Regions from separate parts of the Homo sapiens genome. Here region 1 is linked to region 2. The links are contacts of gene promoters, found by promoter capture Hi-C in human tissues and cell types (Jung and others, 2019). All regions are on one chromosome and are shown on one strand. Each heading gives the region's core, a stretch centred on a gene start or on the middle of the fragment in contact. The rest is flanking DNA. Distances are from core to core; before and after follow the strand shown.

Evidence for each region. The method cuts DNA at HindIII sites, captures the fragments that hold promoters and counts their contacts. A contact is called where the count stands out against the background at its distance.
Region 1: a fragment that was not itself captured here is called in contact with the fragment with the promoter of PRKCSH in region 2 in 1 of the 25 tissues and cell types used here (spleen).

Annotation. Positions count from the first base shown.
Region 1 is chr19:10,896,646-10,901,831 of GRCh38, reverse strand. The region is part of intron 1 of CARM1 (coactivator associated arginine methyltransferase 1); the gene reads right to left. Among named protein-coding and RNA genes, the nearest start is that of CARM1, 28 kb to the right of the region's middle. RefSeq lists an enhancer at 1,970-2,587. The HindIII fragment of the contact is 8,039 bases long and covers 1-5,186 here.
Region 2 is chr19:11,431,877-11,437,085 of GRCh38, reverse strand. It overlaps PRKCSH (PRKCSH beta subunit of glucosidase II), which reads right to left and starts at 1,451. Exons shown (of 18, transcript NM_001289104.2): 1 at 1,380-1,451; 2 at 890-1,045; 3 at 581-697. The coding sequence starts at 968. ODAD3 (outer dynein arm docking complex subunit 3) reads left to right here and starts at 1,965. Exons shown (of 13, transcript NM_145045.5): 1 at 1,965-2,313. The coding sequence starts at 2,070. RefSeq lists enhancers at 894-1,113, 1,364-1,773, 1,347-1,846. The HindIII fragment of the contact is 12,471 bases long and covers 1-2,978 here.

The DNA.
Region 1 (5,186 bases), core at 1,072-3,571, 540 kb after region 2:
GTAGCTGGGATTACAGACATGCATCATCACACCCAGTAATTTCTGTATTTTTGGTAGAGACGGGGTTTTGTCATGTTGGCCAGGCTGGTTTTGAAGTCCTAGCCTCGTGTGATCTGTCCGCCTCGGCATCTCAAAGTGCTGGGATTACAGGCATGAGCCACTGGGCTGGGCCAAGAACTTTTTTAACTCAACAACAAAGAGATAGCCAGGGCCAGGCACAGGCTCATGCCTGTAATCCCAGCACTTTGGGAGGCCAAGATGGGAGGATAACTTGAGGCCAGGAGTTCAAGGTCAGCCTGGGCAACATAGTAAGACCCCATCTCTATCGCTACAAAAAAATAAACAAAATTAGCCGGGCATGGTGGTGCATGCCTGAGATCCCAGCTACTCGGGAGGCTGAGGTGGAAGGATTGCTTGAGCCCGGGAGCTCAAGGTTGCAGTTAGCTATGACTGCCTGTGAACAGCCACTGCACTCCAGCCTGGGCAACATAGCAAGACTCCACCTCTTTAAAAAAACAAAAACAAAAACAAACAAACAAACAAAAAGCTGGCCAAGTGCAGTGGCTCATGCCTGTAATCCCAGCACTTTGGGAGGCCGAGGCAGGCAGATCACCTGAGGTCAGGAGTTCAAGACCAGCCTGGTCAACATGGCAAAATGCCGTCTCTACTAAAAACACAAAAATTAGCCAGACATGATGGTGGGTGCCTGTAGTCCCAGCTACTCAGGAAGCTGAGACAGGGAGAATTGCTTGAATCAGGGAGGTGGAGGTTGCAGTGAGCTGAGATAGCGCCACTGCACTTTAGCTTGGGCAACAGAGTGAGACTCCGCTTCAGAAAAAAAAAAAAAAAGTCCGGGTGCAGTGGCTCACACCTGTAATCCCAGCACTTTGGGGGGCCGAGGCGGGTGGATCACAAGGTCAGGAGATCGAGACCATCCTGGCTAACACGGTGAAACCCCGTCTCTACTAAAAATACAAAAAATTAGCCGGGTGTGGTGACGGGTGCCTGTAGTCCCAGCTACTCGGGAGGCTGAGGCAGGAGAATGGCAGGAACCTGGGAGGCGGAGCTTGCGGTGAGCCGAGATCACGCCACTGCACCCCAGCCTGGGCGACAGAGCCAGACTCATCTCAAAAAAATAAAAATAAAAACAAAACAAAGCAAAAAAAACCAACAGACACTCGTATGCAAGCATTCACAGCAGTACTTATTCACGACAGACACAAGATAGAAATACAACCCAAATGTCCATAAACTGACAAACAGATAAACAAATATGGCTTATCTATAAAATGAAACATTATTCAGCCATAAAAATAAAGGAAGCACTGAGCCATGCTGCAACATGAATGAATAGCAGAAACATCATGCCGAAAGAAGCCAGACACAAATGATTCTATTTATATGAAATAGTCACAGAAGGCACACTGCTGGTGGCTGAGAGCTGGGAGAAGGCAGGAATGGGGAGCAACTGCTTAATGGATGTGGGGTCTCCTTTTGGGGTGACAAACATATTTTGGGAGTAGATAGAGGTGATTGTTATGCAACATTGTAAAAGGGCTAATTTCATGTTATGAAACAACAGCTCTTGACCTCCCAGGCTCAAGACATCCTCCCACCTCAGCCTCCCGGGTAGCTGGAACCTCACGCACATGCCACCACCCCTGGCTAATTTTGTTTATTTTTTTGTAGAAATGAGGGTCTCACTATGTTGCCCAGGCTAGTCTGAAACTCCTGGGGCTCAAGTGATCCTCTCACCTTGGCCTCCAAAGTGCTGGGATTACAGGTGTGAATTTTGTTTCAATAGAAAATGAAAAATGGGCCAGGCGTGGTGGCTCACGCCTGTAATTCCAGCACTTTGGGAGGTGGGCGGATCACTTGAACCCAGGAGTTTGAGACACACCTGTCCAACATGGCAAAACCCCGTCTTTACTAAAAATACAAAAATTAGCAAGGCATGATGGCGGGTGCCTGTAATCCCAGCTACTCAGGAGGCTGAGGCAGGAGAATCGCTTGAACCCGGGAGGTGGAGGTTGCAGTGAGCCGAGATGGCACCACTGCACTCCAGCCTGGACGACAGAGTGAGACTCCGTCTCAAAAAAAAAAAAAAAGAAAAAGAAAAAGAAAACTGTTCCTAACTGACGAGTCCAGGTATGAGGGCCTACAGATATGAGACCTGAAGGGCAGCTCCCCGGCCACACCCAGCCAGTCCTGCCAGACTCTCTCCCACCCCAGGAGCCAGGTGCCGCCCTCCTGAGGGCAGGGCATGGAGGAACCTCCTGAGCCCTGCCAGGAGGGTGTCAGCAGGCCACTGCCCCAGACTCACAGCCTCACTACACCCACAGAGGCCCAAGATAAAGTGCTCCCAGCTGTGGGTGGGTCCCAGGAAGGGACATCCAACCTTGGCATGGTGCCCACACTCATACCCGTCCTGGGGCAGGAGATACTGTCGATCTGTTAGCCACACCTGGGCGACAGCAAGTGGGCCCAGGGAGGCCTGTTTACCAAGCAGCCTGGCAACCCGATGTTGCCTGAGGCGTCCCTCTCTGACCTGGCGCCAGGCAGGCAACTACAGGACCTGTGGCCAAGTGAAGCCTGGCTGTGCCCAGCCAGGGCTAGGGCTGGGCTTGGGCCAAAGATGCCGGGGCTGAGGGCAAGTGGATCGCTTCATCACAGCAGCAGCTGCTAAAGCCCGCGGAGCCGGCAGCTTCTCAAAGTCACAGCTTTATCCCCAAGTTAGTCCCTGGCACACAGAAGACACCTGGGAAATACTGACAAACCAAAAAAAAAAAAAAAAAAAACAAGCTAAGCCGTGTTCCTCTCTTTGTTCAGGAGACTCCCGAGCCTCTGAGCTCTGTGCCCATCATTCCTCATGGCTCTCCCCGTCTTGGCCCCTCCCCATGGACACACTCAACCCTCTAGTCCCTACATGGGCCAGGCCCCAGGCCTCTGCACATGCTGTTCCCACTTTCTCCCTTCCTCTCCCCTCCCTCTGCTACTATGGGTCCAGTGGGCCATCGCACACCTGGCCCAGGGTCACCTCTGAGTAGGCAGGGAATGCACAGCCTGTCTCCTGGCTTGCGAACAGCACCCCAGGAGGAGGGTAGAAGGGAGCCTTGGGGCCCGGGACGCACAGGCATCTGGATCCAGCAGTGGCGATTCAGTGCTCGCCACAGATGCAGCCCTGCCCGCAGGAAACTCACTGTGGCATCCTCTCAAGGCCAGCAACCACCTCCCAAAGCGGCCATTCAGCTGGGGAGGAGCAGTATGGGAGCCGCGGAAGGGGGCAGGACCCCAGGATTCAGAAAGGCCCTCTGTGTTGGCCTCTAGAGACAAATCCAAAAAGCACCACTGTTGCGGCATCAGCCGGCGCATGTTGGGGACTGTGTGCACATGGCCTGGAGAGGTGGGGGACAGGCTGCAGGGCTAGCAGGCAAGGGTGACCAAAAAGCAGACTCTAGAGCCAGGAGGCCGTGGTGAGTTCAGGCCAATTGAGGCCAGGCCACAGCTGGGGTATCTTTTTTTTTTGAGACTAAGTCTCACTCTGTCGCCTAGACTGGAGTGCAGTGGCAAAATCTCAGCTCACCGTAACCTCCATCTCCCAGGTTCCAGCGATTCTCCTGTCTCAGCCTCCCGAGTAGCTGGGATTACAGGCATGCACCACCACACCTGGCTAATTTTTGTATTTTTATTAGAGACAGGGTTTCTTTTTTTTTTTTTCTTTTTTTTGAGACGGAGTCTCGCTGTCTCCCAGGCTGGAGTGCAGTGGCGCAATCTTGGCTCACTGCAGGCTCCACTCCCTGGGGTTCACGCCATTCTCCTGCCTCAGCCTCCCGAGTAGCTGGGACTACAGGCGCCCGCCACCTCGCCCGGCTAATTTTTTTTGTATTTTTTGTAGAGACGGGGTTTCACCGTGTTAGCCAGGATGGTCTCGATCTCCTGACCTCGTGATCCGCCTGCCTCAGCCTCCCAAAGTGCTGGGATTACAGGAGTGAGCCACCGCATCCAGCCTAGAGACAGGGTTTCACCTCGTTGACCAGGCTGATCTCAAACTCCTGATCTCAGGTGATTCACCCACCTCGACCTCCCAAAGTGCTGAGATCACCGGTGTGAGCCACCGTGCCCGGCCCAGAGCTAGCATTTCTTTACCCTGCAGTAAAAGGAAAGGGACTGGGATCTCCAGGTGGAGTCTCCAACGGGGAACGTAAAGAACACAAACCCGGACTGAGTGTTACGCTTTGGCCACCCCTGGACCCAGCCTGGGGCTACTCGCTGGCCTGCCACACTGCAGTCGGCCCTGATGAAGCTCTGGGGCCAAGGGAGGAGGGGCTGGAACTGCAGGGAAGGGGGTAGAAAAATTGCCCCATCTTTGAGGCAGCCTTTCTTGCTTCCCAGGAAGCAGCCCTCCACCATGTGAATCCAGGTCACAAACCCCCAGCTGCCATGAGCCAGGCCTGCCCACACCCTGCAGAGGCTGGGATGTCACATGACATAAGAGTGACAACACTCTAACAGCCAGGCTCTGTTCCGGTGCCTTATGTCGACCTCCTGTTTCCTCTTCTCATCACTTCTGGGAGTATCTACTCTCACTATGCCCTTATTTGCTCAGAGAGGTTAAGTGTCTTGCTCAAGGTCACACAGCAAGAGTGGCCGAGGTGACTGGCACCAGCATCCCTATTCCTCACCAATGCACCACCCAATGTCTCTGCGCTTCCTAGAGCAGGCCTTGGCTGACTTTCTGTGTAAAGGACCAGACAGTAAATATTGTGTGCTTCCTGGGGAATCTGATCTCTGCTGGGGAATCTGATCTCTGCTACAATGATTCTATTCTGCCTTGCAGCAGACAATATGTAAACAAATGAGCATGGCTGTGTGCCCATAAAGCTTCATTTGCAAAACCCGGAAGGATTACAGGTGCAGAGCAGAGGCTGGACCCTCAGCATCCTCGCCACCCACTTCCCTATCTGCTCACTAGGCACTCGGCAATGGAGACACACTCCCCATCCTAGAGGCGGTGAGGACAGCCGAGTGGCAGACTGACAGAGATCCCCAAGTGGTGGACTCTGTAGGTGCCTGGAGGTGGCACCTGACCCAGCCTGGGAAGGAGACTGGGGACAGATATGCCAGTAAGGGGAAGAGTGCAGGAACGCAGGGAAACAGGGGTGGCCCAGACAGTGTGGTGAGCCCTG
Region 2 (5,209 bases), core at 202-2,701:
CCAGCCTGGGAAACAGAGCAAGACTCCGTCTCAAAACAAAAACAAAACCAAAGACACGGTCTCATCCAGGCACGGTGGCTCACACCTGTAACCCCAGCACTTTGGGAGGCCAAGGCAGGAGGATGACTTGAGCCCAAGAGTTCCAGGCTGCAGTGAGCTACGATCATGCCACTGTACTCCAGCCTCAGCAACAAAGCAAGACCCTGTCTCTTCAAAACACACAAAAACAAAAAGCCAGGGTCTCCCTTCACCTCTGTCTCCTGCTGGATTGCTCTTGGCCCCACCCTGTCTCCCACTTCTAGGGGTTTGCCCGTGTTGACCCCTCCATCTGCAGCACCTTCGGGATTCAACTGAAACCTCACCTCCTTGGAGGAGCCTTCTCTGACCCCGAGGCTTGGGAGGAGGACGACTCTGGGCTCCTCCAGCTGCCCGGGGCCATAACACTGACCACTGACTTCTGAGCTTGTTTCTGCCCACTCAAAGGGGAGCCAGCAGAGGTAGTATCTTGGTCACACAGACAGGGCCTGGCACTGAGCAGTGTTCAATAAACATCTGATGGATGAACAGAGAAAAGGCTCACCTGGCTCGTCAGAGCCATCTTTGCAGTCGCAATAGTCATCGTTGACCTGATCAAATGGGATGGTGGCCGAACCGTCCAGGCAGGTGAAAGGCTTGGACTCATCGTAGAAGTGATGATCTGCGGGGTACAGGAAGCTCAGCCCAGGGCAGGTAAGCGCCTTCTCCACCAAATACCACCTCTGTCCTCCCATCCCCACCAGCGGAGCACTACCGGGAAACTGAGTCAAAAGGCTGTAAATGCCTATCCCTAAGGCCCAATGTTGGCCCCTCCCACCTCCAGCCTGGCGGGAGGGTGAACAGGAGGACTCACTGGTGAGGGAGACGCCCCGGGGCCTCTTGACCTCCACGGCCCAGCACATGGGTAGCAGCAGCAGCAGCGGCAACAGCATCTCACCAGACGCTCTGAGGCCCGAAACGGGTTCTGTGGGAGGAAGCCTACAGCGGGGAGATGCGCTGTGTCTTCACGCTGCAGGAAGAAAGCGGATCCCGGTCAGTGGGAGAGGGCTACTTCCAGCCAATTGGATTCCTCCATCGCTTCCAGGCAATGAGGCCTCACTTTGTTTCCGATATGGGGGCGAGGGGCAGCGATCTCCCCAATCCTGGCCAGTCTCACTTTGCTCAAATCAATGGCGAGGATCTCAAGATCTCAAAACCTCCGCTCCCTGTGCCCAATTGTGACCCAATTCCCGCCAACAGACCAAAGGGATTAACAGCCTCCGCCGTCCACACCCACACATGCACCCTCCGGTTGCCCCCTGTAAGAAACTGAGGTGCCCTCCCACCCGCTCGTTCACACCTACACGAGGCCGGAGCAAAGGTCAGTATCCACCGCACCCCTCTTGTCCAGCAGCCGCGGTTCCTGCTGCAGAAAGAAAGCGGAAATTTCTGGACCCCGTCACTTCCGGTCGTACGTTCCGCACCGGGAACGGAGACTCAGGGTCGCCATGTTGGGAGAGGCAGGAGTGGGGGCGGTGCCAGAGCCGAGACGGCCATCTTGGGCAGGACTGTGAAACCTTAGAGAGGATAGTTCTGAGGGCTAGCTCTTAATGGCGGCGCAGCGTACCTCCATCTTGGGAGTGGCGGCTTCTCAAGCCGGAAAGAAAGTTCCTGAAAAATGCCCGCGAACCCCCAGGGGCGGGATAAGGTTGGGGGAGGTAGGGAAACGGAATGAGCACGTGACCCCAAAGTGTCCAGACCCTCCGTCCTGCGGCGCGGCTCTACCCCGCCCACTGTTGGGACCGCCCCTCTATGCAGCCTCAGCCAATGAGAACGCAGTGTCAGCCACGGAACGCGGGTGATCTCCATGGAAACAGTGGAGAGAGACGGGGAGGCGGTTACCTGGCAACCGAGAGATGCGGAGCGCAACCACCTAGCGGTCGGAAAGTGCATTTTTCAGAGCCCTAGGAATCCGAGCTGACGGATCCCTGACAGGGGCGACTGACTCCTAGTTATCCCCCTAACCCCTAGGGGCCTTCAGCCCCAACCCCATCATGACATCTCCTCTGTGCAGGGCGGCCTCCGCCAACGCCCTGCCTCCTCAGGACCAGGCTTCGACGCCCTCTTCCAGGGTCAAGGGCAGGGAGGCTTCGGGCAAACCCAGCCACCTCCGAGGCAAGGGCACAGCCCAGGCGTGGACCCCAGGCCGTTCCAAGGGAGGATCCTTCCACAGAGGTGCAGGGAAGCCCTCTGTGCACTCTCAGGTGGCTGAGTTACATAAAAAGATACAACTGTTAGGTAAGATGGCTCCAGAGGGTACAGAGGGTCAGGGGTCAACAGTGCCCATCCAATCTTCATGGTGTGACAAAGGTATTTCTCCAGCATGAGTCTAGGTAAACCGTTTCTGGGCAAAAACTCATACTTAGTTCATGTTTTTCCTTCTCTGTCTCTTAAAACTTCTCATGGGTTCAGAACCGACTGAACTGTACTTCATACTTTCTTGTAATTTATTTTCTCTATTTTTTTTTTTTTTTTTGGCAGAATCTCACTCTGTTGCCAGGTGGGAGTGCAGTGGAACGATTTCGGCTCACTGCAACCTCCGCCTCCCGGGTTCAAGCGATTCTCCTGCCTCAGCCTCTTGAGTAGCTGGGACTACAGGCACACGCCACCACGCCTAACTAATTTTTGTATTTTTAGTACAGAGGGATTTCACCATATTGGCCAGGGTGGTCTCAATCTCTTGACCTCCCAAACTGCTGGGATTACAGGCGTGAGCCCGCCTCGGCCTCCCAAACTGCTGGGATTACAGGCGTGAGCCACTGCACCCGCGTTTTTTTTTGTTTTGTTTTTTGTTTTTTGAGACAGGGTCTTGCTCTGTCGCCTAGGCTGGAGAGCAGTGGCATGATCTCGGCTCACTGCAACCTCTGCCTCCAAGGTTCAAGCGATTCTCGAGCCTCAGCCTCCTGACTAGCTGGGACTATAGGTGCGTGCCACCACACCTAATTTTTATATTTTTAGTAGAGACTGGGTTTCACCATGTTGGCCAGGCTGGTCTCGAACTCCTGATCTCAAGTGATCCACGGCCTTGGCTCCCAAAGTGCTGGGATTACATGTGTGAGCCACCGCGCCCAGCCTTCTTTCTTTCTGACAGGGTCTTGCTCTGCTGTTGAGGCTGGAGTGTAGTGGTTGGATAACAGTTCACTGCAGACTTGACCTCCTAGGCTCAAGCGATCCTTCCACCTCAGCCTCCTGAGTAGCTGGGACTACAGGCATACACCACTGTGCTTGGCTAATTTTCTTACTTTTTGTAGAGATGGGGTCTCACTATGCTGCCCAGGCTGGTCTCAAACTCCTGGGCTCAAGCAATCCTTCCTCCTCAGCCTCCCAAAGTGCTGGGGTTACAGGCATGGGCCGCTGCACCTGGCCTGAGCATAGATTTTTAGAGCCAGATTTTCTGGGTTGGAATCCTGGCTCTGCATAATAGTTGTCCAACCTTGGGGGACTAAGAGTAACCTAATTGTTCTCAGTTTCTCGATGTGTGAAATGGGGATAGTAACAGTACAACATAGGTACCTGAAATGTGTAAAGTGCTTAGAACAGTGCCTGGCACATAGCAAAGTACCATAAGGTGTAAACCAGTGGTTCTTGTTGGAAAAGGGTTGGTTTGCCCCACAGGGGCCATTTGGCAATGTCCTAAGACATTGAGACCAGCATGGCCAACACGGTGAAACGCTGTCTCTACTAAAAATACAAAAAATTAGCCGGGCATGGTGGCATGGATGTCTGTTGTGGGTGTGTGTCTGCCACTGGCATCTAGTGGGCAGAGTTGAAGATGCTGCCCAACATTCTGCAAAACACAGGAGAGCACCCCACGGCAAATAATTATTCGGCCCAGTTGTTGGTCATCCTGAGGTTGCAGAATCCTTGTGTGTAAGCTATTATTATTGCTTTTGTTGATATTATTAAGAGGTAATCATGGCTGGGCGAGGTGGCTCACACCTGTAATCCCAGCACTTTGGGAGGCTGAGGTGGGCGGATCATTTGAGGTCAGGAGTTTGAGACCAGCCTGGCCAACATAGTGAAACCCCATCTCTACTAAAAGTACAAAAATTAGCCGGGCATGGTGGCGCACGCCTGTAATCCCAGCTACTTGGAAGGCTGAGGCAGGAGAGGGGCTTGAACCCAGGAGGTGGAGGTTGCGGTGAGCCAGGATTGCGCCACTGCACTCCAGCCTGGGTGACAGAGTGAGATTCCGTCTTAAAAAAAAAAAAGGGTAATCTTGCATGGTTGCTTGTGACCTTAAGCAGTTTAATCAGCCCAAGCCTCTGTCTTGTCATCTGTGCAAGGGGTATGATATGCGTATGCCATGGATACCTATTGGCACGTGATATATGGCATTCGGAAACCTCTTAGTCCAGCATCCAACACATAATAAATGCTCACAGTGAAGTACAGTTGACCGTTGAACACCATGTGTTCACATATATCATTCATCCTTTCAAGTTAAAAAAAATTGAGATGGGCAGGCCGGGCACAGTGGTTCATACCTGTAATCCCAGCACTTTGGGAGGCTGAGGCAGGAGGATTGCTAGAGGCCAGGAGTTCGAGACCAGCCTGGGCAACATAGTGAGATCCTTGACTCTACAAAAAATAAAGTAGCCAGATGTGGTGGCACATGCCTCTAGTCCTAGCTACTTGGGAGGCTGAGGCAGGAGGACTGCTTGAGCTCAGGAGGTTGAGGCTTCAGTGAGCAGTGATAGCACCACTGCACTTCATTCTGGGTGACAGAGCAAGACCCAGTCCCAAAAAAGAAAAGAAAAGAAAATACAACAGTCCTGGAATGCAAAACCTGAGTATACAGAGGGACAACTGTTTGTATCTGCAGGTTCCACAGGGCTGACTGTGGGACTTGAGTATGGAAGGATTTTGGGGTTTTTTGTTTTGTTTTGTTTTGTTTTTTGAGACAGAGTCTTGCTCTGTTGCCCAGGCTGGAGTGCAGTGGCAGGATCTCAGCTCAATGCAACCTCCACCTCCAGAGGTCAAGTAATTATTGTGCCTCAGCCTCCTGTAGCTGGGATTACAGGCACCCACCATCATGCCCGGCTAATTTTTTTTTTTTTTTTTTTTTGAGGCAGAGTCTCGCTCTGTCACCCAGGCTGGAGTGCAGTGGTGCGATCTCGGCTCACTGCAAGCT